Regions from separate parts of the Homo sapiens genome. Here regions 1 and 3 are each linked to region 2. The links are contacts of gene promoters, found by promoter capture Hi-C in human tissues and cell types (Jung and others, 2019). All regions are on one chromosome and are shown on one strand. The core of a region is centred on a gene start or on the middle of the fragment in contact, and the rest is flanking DNA. Distances in the headings are between cores, read along the strand shown. Region 1 has its middle 270 kb from the start of MCPH1-DT. Region 2 holds the start of CSMD1 (CUB and Sushi multiple domains 1). Region 3 overlaps CSMD1 (CUB and Sushi multiple domains 1).

Evidence for each region. The method cuts DNA at HindIII sites, captures the fragments that hold promoters and counts their contacts. A contact is called where the count stands out against the background at its distance.
Region 1: a contact is called between a fragment that was not itself captured here and the fragment with the promoter of CSMD1 in region 2, in 1 of the 25 tissues and cell types used here (dorsolateral prefrontal cortex).
Region 3: a contact is called between a fragment that was not itself captured here and the fragment with the promoter of CSMD1 in region 2, in 1 of the 25 tissues and cell types used here (dorsolateral prefrontal cortex).

What each region holds. Positions count from the first base shown.
Region 1 is chr8:6,134,289-6,136,988 of GRCh38, reverse strand. No RefSeq gene overlaps it. Among named protein-coding and RNA genes, the nearest start is that of MCPH1-DT, 270 kb to the left of the region's middle. The HindIII fragment of the contact is 5,310 bases long and covers 1-2,700 here.
Region 2 is chr8:4,993,496-4,996,195 of GRCh38, reverse strand. CSMD1 (CUB and Sushi multiple domains 1) reads left to right here and starts at 1,282. Exons shown (of 70, transcript NM_033225.6): 1 at 1,282-1,864. The coding sequence starts at 1,780. The HindIII fragment of the contact is 12,651 bases long and covers 1-2,700 here.
Region 3 is chr8:3,599,600-3,602,338 of GRCh38, reverse strand. All of the region lies in intron 8 of CSMD1 (CUB and Sushi multiple domains 1), which reads left to right. Among named protein-coding and RNA genes, the nearest start is that of LINC03021, 870 kb to the right of the region's middle. The HindIII fragment of the contact is 6,155 bases long and covers 1-2,739 here.

The sequences.
Region 1 (2,700 bases), core at 178-2,677, 1.1 Mb before region 2:
TCATTTCTTTTAGTTCACAACAAAAATAAGGCTGAGGCTGGTAGTATTTTAATCTCCCTGTGCAGATGAGAAAATAAATGTTGAGACAATAAGTTTCCCACCCAAGTTGACACACTGACAGGCAGAAGAGTTGGAGATTTAAGTCTTGATGAGTCAGTCCTTAGAGCTCGAGTTTTTAAGCCCACTCTGACAAAGCAAGCCCACCCATTGTTCCCTCCACATGTAATGACATCACAGAATACAGACTTCATGGCATCACGTTGTGAGTTCTGTGTGGAGCATTTTAAGAGGAATCTGTCTGCGTACCCTAAGTGATGGAAAAGCCGCTTGTAGATTCATGGGAGTCCTGACGGGTGGCTGCACTTAGGTGAGAAATGAGTTAAATGCAATCACCCTACCAGTTGTGGGGGTCGGGGGGTGCGGGTGGTGGTGGTGGGGGGGCGCGGGGGGAGGGCGGCAAGCTCCAGGCTGGCCATGACTCACCTACATAGAGACAAGCACACACTTACAAGCCAAGAAGCGAGTTTGGCAAGTTTGGCCGAGAGCAACAAAGGGATGGAATGCTTCCAGAAGGAGCTCTCTGAAGTGCCTGAAGGGCAAGACTGAGAGTGACTGAGGGAGAGCTGCATTCAGAGCAGCTAGTGTTCAGTCTTGGAAGATGCCACGGGGTCTTTCTTTTAAATCTCTGCAGTTTCAGAAAGCAGGCTACACCTGGCACTTGTGATAGCCAGAGCAAAGGAAGCTGGTGGAGAAAGAAATGTGTCTGTAACACAGAGTTCCAAAAACAGCATTCTGCCAGCTCTCAATCCTGCCCTTTCCTGATTGTGACTTGAGAGAGAACGAAGTTGCCCTGGAGTCAGAGAAGGCGCCTTCTCTGAAAGAATGTCTCCCCCAGCTTGGCAGAGACAACGGTTGCTTTGAAACACAATCGCACCATCTCTATATTGTGATTTTTTAATTTTAGAAATGATTTACAGCCTCATTCTTCTCAGAATTTGAAAGTAGAATTCTATGAAAGCCAAAAAATTTGAATACAAGAAAACTCATTATTCCCTCTACAAATCCACTCCACCTTGTTCCTTTTCTCAGAGAATCACTGTGGCACCTACCCATTTGTCCAAGTCCGAGACCTGGGCTCTCCCACGCTCAATGCACGACATCCACTCACTTCCCGTCTTGGTGGTTCTGCCCTCAGGAGTCTGAGGCCTGTTCCCTCTTCTCTCTTCCATCTGCCACCATCTGGTTTGTATCCTCCTTGTTTTCCACCACACTTTCTACTTAGACTACCTTCTTTGTCAGAGGAATGGCCACTTGCATGAGACTTGTGAGACATATTAACTCAAATTCAAATTTTAGACGTTATGCATATACAGCGGAACCCCCCCACGAACATCCCGATAACTAACACACATGTCTGACTTGCACCGTGGCTCCTGACTTCAATTCCTTGGTTTAGGGGCAGTCAACAGTGGAGGGGAAAGCCGGGAAACGCTGCGTTTAGGCTGGATCCTGATGCCTGAGCAGGGGTTTCCTAGAGGGAGGAAAGGCGTAGTGATCCAGTACCTCTTTCATAAACTTAGTGTTAAATAGTGGACAGACTTAACCAAAGGAGGGGGAGAGAAGAGAAGAAAGAAATGAAGATGACATGCCACTGAGGCGCGTGCCATCAGACTGTGGAAGAGACTCTCGGTCCAAATGCATGTTTCCTGAACTTCAGCCTGCCTCCAGAGAAAACCCACAGGATTTTAAAAAGAGAGGGGCGAAACTGCCGGGCAACTTTATGAGCTTTATGGGTATGCTAACAAAGAAATGCTCCTCCAAAACACCCAGCGCCTGGCTGGTAGGAGCACTGCTGGGATCAGTCATTCATGCCTTATTTATTACACACCTTGTTGTGTGAAGCAGCTCCATTTGGGGCCATCTAGTCCTGTTTTAAAGCCACTCTTGATTTAAAGCCAAACCATTTCATTGAAAGAGCTTCTATTCTAACGAAGACATACTGGTTATGTGTGTCTTGAATCTTTCAAAGGAAGAGTGATGCAATACCGGGGGTCTGCTGTTTTAGCAGAGGCAGTGTTTCTCATGGAGATCTTCCTCACAGCAGCCCCTTCTATCAGGCACTGCATTTGCATTTTAGAACAATTTTCCCCCCTGATTACCAGCTTGAACTGAGTGAGGAAAAGGGAGGATGAAAGAATGCAACCGAATGCCCCTGCCAAACCCAGCCACCTGTTAATGAAGCTCAGCTCCTCCCCTCTTCCCTTCTCATTTCATGGAAATGGAGAGTGCAGGACTGAGATTTATGCATTGGGAATGAAGCAGGAGGGTTTTTCCAAGCGCTGGCCAGAACGCTGAAATCAAACCTGTTTCAGTGAAAAGTGCATTGTTGCTCTTGTTTAAGAGGCATTCACAGGCAATAAGCAAATCACCTCAGGATGAATACATTTGGTTCCTGATTCTGAATCTGTGGAAAGATTGTTAAAATATAAAGCAATATACACCAGTTACTGACCCACTGGGAAATTCTGTAGCTCCATAAAGCACGTTAAAACATTGTAGTTATTTCAGTAAGTCTGTGTTTGCAGGCTGAGATGCTACGGAATCGGGCAGGGAAGGAGAATGCCTTGCAATTAGATGAATTTGCCAAGAGATTTTAAGTGGCATGAAATGCCTGGTATCAGCCTCTGGGAATCAGCGTAA
Region 2 (2,700 bases), core at 33-2,532:
CCCCAATTGTGGCCACCTGCACCTTAGGCTGCAGGGAGACTAAGAAAGTCAGGCTTCGGTGTTTCCATGCCAAGGTTGCAGTCCTTCCTGGATCCATTATGCCTTTCTAGGGTAGACTAGGTCACAGAGGCAGGAGCAATCTAAGAAAATTGAAGGAGGGATATAAAACTTTATCAAACTGTCAACCCATTTAATCTCAAAGACTGACAGAGGAAGTGCAGGTGGGATGAAGCGGTGGGCTGTCCCTCCCACCACAGGCATTCGGTGCTGTGGGGATACCGCAGGTAGATGGTTGTATACTCTAATGGTTCCAGGCCTGGAGGCTAATTCTCTCTTACTAGGGTATGGGATTTCCACGTTCTGTCCTCTGAAAGGGCTAAACCTTTTTGGTCAAGGATGTCGAATCCTTTAAATGTCCTTCTATGGAAACCAGCCCTCACTCGTGGTGTTTCTATTAACTGACCACCTTCTCCTAAAATGTCTCTCCTTACACGTTCCCCAGGAACTGCAGGAATGCCTCCTCTATTTGGGGAGCTGGGTGAAATCCAGTTTACTGTATCAAGTACTGCTATTCTAAAGCACTGTTCTCTCTCTGCGGGCTTCATCCTTTTGCAGAATCAGGGAGAACCTGTCTCTTCTCTTTTAAGGTCCCTTCCCAACCCACAGAATTTTATATATAGTTTCATCAGAAGCTGTGCCAACATGCCGGCTCTCACAACCAGACCATAATATTAATTCTAGAGACTTCCTCATGTCACGTTTTATCTGAAGCTGAAGTTTGGGCATGGCTAAATCTAACACAATCCAAAGTCAGGAAATGTGTAAATTTGTGTAACTCCTTGCAAATAGTCCATCTTGCAAAACATTATACATATCATCATATATATATATATATAAATGTATAAATATATTCCTCCCTTGGAGTTGAAGCTTGTGCCCTTTCCACCTGCATTTCTGATCTAAGTTAGGTAGGGGGCTGCTCTCTGGTCAGCAAGGAAGGGAGATCAAAGGATGGAGGCGGGACTCTGCCCCTGCAGAAACCCTCCAGTTTGCTGGAGTTGCCGGATTACATTGTTCCTCCCCGGTGTGCGGCGTGAGCTTCCCCCACCCGAGCGCCCAACAAGTCTCCTTTCTCCAGCCTGCGCGCTGCTGCGCTGAGGCCGAATGAAGCGCAGCACGGTGCGGGCAGCCCGAGGCCCCGAGGCTGGGCTCTGTCTGTCTGGGACTGCGCCGTGCCCAGCCTCGGTCCCCTCTCTGTGGGTAAGGATGGTTGAGTCCAGCCTCCACGGCAGCGGCTCCTTGTGCCACTAGCAGCCCTTCTTCTGCGCTCTCCGCCTTTTCTCTCTAGACTGGATCTCTCCTCCCCCCCGCGCCCCCCTCCCCGCATCTCCCACTCGCTGGCTCTCTCTCCAGCTGCCTCCTCTCCAGGTCTCTCCTGGCTGCGCGCGCTCCTCTCCCCGCTTCTCCCCCTCCCGCAGCCTCGCCGCCTTGGTGCCTTCCTGCCCGGCTCGGCCGGCGCTCGTCCCCGGCCCCGGCCCCGCCAGCCCGGGTCTCCGCGCTCGGAGCAGCTCAGCCCTGCAGTGGCTCGGGACCCGATGCTATGAGAGGGAAGCGAGCCGGGCGCCCAGACCTTCAGGAGGCGTCGGATGCGCGGCGGGTCTTGGGACCGGGCTCTCTCTCCGGCTCGCCTTGCCCTCGGGTGATTATTTGGCTCCGCTCATAGCCCTGCCTTCCTCGGAGGAGCCATCGGTGTCGCGTGCGTGTGGAGTATCTGCAGACATGACTGCGTGGAGGAGATTCCAGTCGCTGCTCCTGCTTCTCGGGCTGCTGGTGCTGTGCGCGAGGCTCCTCACTGCAGCGAAGGGTAAGACGGACTTGCTCCTGGCCGGGGAGGCGGTAGAGCCCTCGGAGGCCCCGTGTGCGGACGCGAGTGTGCGTTTTGGGGACCGCAGGGTACGGAGTGGCCGCCTCTGCCCGGCGCTGCTCCATCGCCGAAGCTCGGGGAACGCGATGCACGGGAGGGAGCTTCCATCGCGCTCTCCCCAGCCCTCCTGGGCCCCCGCCCCACCCCGCCATTCCTTCCCCCTCTCTTGGGCTCACAGGAGAGATCTCTTTTTCTCGGCAGTACAGGGTGTCAAGGAGAAAGGAACCCAATACGAGTTGGGCTGGAACTGTGCTCCGCCGGGGCGGTGTTGCCTCCTCCGAGACGTGGACTCCACGGGTCGGGGTGGCTGAGGGGCAGTTCCCAGGACTTTCTCCCCGGACCCGACGCGCCTGGGAAAGCGTCCCGGGTGAAGCCGGCCTGGAAAGTTCGGGCTCTCTACGGGGGTTTTGGTACCAATAGGCAAAGGTCTCCGCCGGCCCGGCCTCCTCGCACCCATACACCCCATTCCTCCTCTCCTCCTTCCCTCTCCAACGTCCTCAGCCGGCGAGGAGTAGCTGCCTCTAGAAGGTCGCCCCCGCTTTCCTCTCCCCCGGACTTCGCTCCTTGCAAGTTGTAAGGTGTTGGCAAGGTGCGTGAAACAGGCTAGGAGTTCTGGACCGGCTTCCAAGTCAGATACATTCACTGTGGGCGCACGGGTATCCTCCTTCTACGCTGGTCAGGGGAAGGAGTTTCTCTGGGTGGCTCCTGGGCTTGGGGCTCTGTGAGCTTGGTTTTCTCCCTGAATGAGTTGGGGAATGTTTTCTTCTAAGTAGCCT
Region 3 (2,739 bases), core at 72-2,571, 1.4 Mb after region 2:
GGAAAGAAGAGAGTTAGTGTTCATTGATCTGCCCTAGAGAGAAAGTGATCTGGTTTTCCTGGGGACTCTAAACTGTGCAATTAAACACACTCCAGTTACCCCGAAGGTTCTGGTTTAATTGGTCAGGAAGATGGACCAGTCATGAAGATTTTTAAAGAGAATGTTTAATTGTGATAAAATCCACATAATATAGAATTTAGCATCCTGACCATTTTAAGTGTGCAGTTCAATGGTGTTAACACATTCATATGGTTGTATAACCATGACCACCATCCATCTCCAGAATTCTTTTTATCCTGCAAAACTGAAACTCCATACCCATAAAGCCATAACTTCCCATCCTCCCCTACCCACATCTCCCGACAGCCACCATTGTACTTCCTGTTCCTGGGAACGTGATCACTATAGACAGAATGTGCTATAACCCTCTCTCTCTCTAGGGCAGATCTGTGAACACTAACTCTCTCCTTTGCTTCAACACATTTCTGGTGAAGACGTAGGGGGAAACAGAATGAATCATTTGAGATTCTGAAGAGTTTTTAAACGAATTGGAAACATTAGGGAGCAGGGAGAATGGTCCCCAAATCAATGCACTGGTTGTTATTCAATGTTCACTGCTTTAATATTGTTCCTATAGTTGATAACTCTTCTGCATATTACCAATGATTTCACAGGCTTCCATTAGCCTTAAAGTTTGTTGACGCTGCTGAACAGAGCCATGAAAATTTTGCAGCATCTTATTCTACAGTAGATTGTGGTGACTAGTGTAGGTAACTCAATGTTAGACCTTTTATAAGTGCCTGCTGTGATTCTGATGTGCAAGCGAGGTTGGTAACCATTGGCCTGCCTGGTGTATGTCATCCGTGATATGAGATTAGAGATAGGTGACTAAATACAGATGGGCTTGCTTTTCTAAACCTGTTTGATAGCATAAACATCGTCTGATAATGTATATGGAAACCTCATCGTTGGAAAACACTTTCAGTATCTGCTGCCTTCTACAGCTCCTATATGTCTGCAGAAGCTGGAAGAATAAGGACAGCTGATTTGTTTCCCCGCAGCAAAAATCCTACCAAATCTTGGCCTCCATCAAATAATGTTCTTGGAAAAATAATAAAGATGTGAGGCCAATGAGCAGCTCCCATGAACAGGAATCCCACGGACACAATGATGCAGCACTGGTAGATCTCAGAAGCCAGAGGCAAACCTACATCTAGCAGTGATATACAGGAGTCATGGAGGTTTCTAGCATGTATGACCTGGTATCAAGCTTGCTGCCACGATATCATGCGGGATGAATGAAAAATGTCCAATCATAGCTGATTCTTGCACATAGAGATTAGTACAGAGACCCCCTTGGAATAGTTCTTTACATTTCTTGACATTGCAATCAATTCCTTCCTCTCTATCCACATTTTCAATCACATAGCAAAACCATTTTTTTATTGTATTGAAATCATTTATTTAATTAATAAAATACTGTGTTTGCAATATTGCAAAACATGCATATGAATGTTGCAAAACATGCATATGAATGTTACAAAACATTCATGGAAGAACAATGACTGCTATTTATGACTGAATCCTGTGATAGAGTGGGGATAGAGGTGGGTGCCTGGATCCCTCAGTAAAATTACCGCCCCTGCAGACTTTCGCTTTAGACCAGAGCAATGGTTTTCTGTCTCTTATCATCTGGGGTCACCAGTCGTTTTCCACTGCCACCAGCAATAATACTTGCTTGCCATCGTAGAGAATATACTGGCAAGCTGGGTGAGTAAATGGGAGCACCCTATCCCCAGGATGACATTTCATAGTCTCTGAGTGGTAGTCTTTGACACTTGGCGTCCCTTTTCCAATCAACCCTGAATGATTCTGATACACTTGACCCTTGCTGAGAACTGCTGGTTTAGAGACCTCTTAAGTTTCTGTATTCATATTCTAGGGGAAATAGAGTAGCTAGTTAGATGGTTTATCAATTTAACTAGGATCTAAAGGTAATAAATCCACCCACTCCACCCTTCAACAGCATTAAATGCCCTTTGGCACCAAATTCTAAATTTTATGAGGAATTTTACCTAAGCTTCCTATTTATACTAATGGGGAGGAGAAGGAGAAAAGGAGAAAGACAGACAGATACCTGGAAAGATTCGGGAAGCAATGGTTTGTCAGTTTTCAGCTTGCTGATGCCACCTGCAGTTATGTGTGTGTGTGTCTTAAATTAATTCCTCGCTCTCTTTACCTGCTAGACTTTTCTTAAGTGTTCAGCAAGCATTCAGAACCAGCTCTACCCTTAGTGATGAGCTGAGGAGGTGCCTCTTGTGGTGGTCATTTTCCCTGCCCTCACAATGATGCTGCCAGGAGCTTGCCATCAATGAATTGTAGAGACCGACACTTTGCTTTAAGACGTCCTGCTGTGCCGAAATGTTGCTTCCTCTGGAAGGGGAAGGTAGTCAACCATCTCACTCCATTACACTTTCTTGTGTATGAAAGAATTTGTCAGATCTGTTGCTCCCAGCAGATTTTGATGAAAGACAGGAGGAAAGAAGTGGGAGTTGCCCATGCCAAGCGGGAAGGACCACCTGGTGAAAGAAGAGAGGAGTGCAAGGTATAGGTTGGCGCCAATCTGGGCATGCAGCAGATACTCAAAGGAAAATGGAGATGTTGTTAAAGGCATAAAGCTGCAGTTACATAGGATGAATAAACCTAGGGATCTGATGTATAGCATGAAGTGGTTAATTA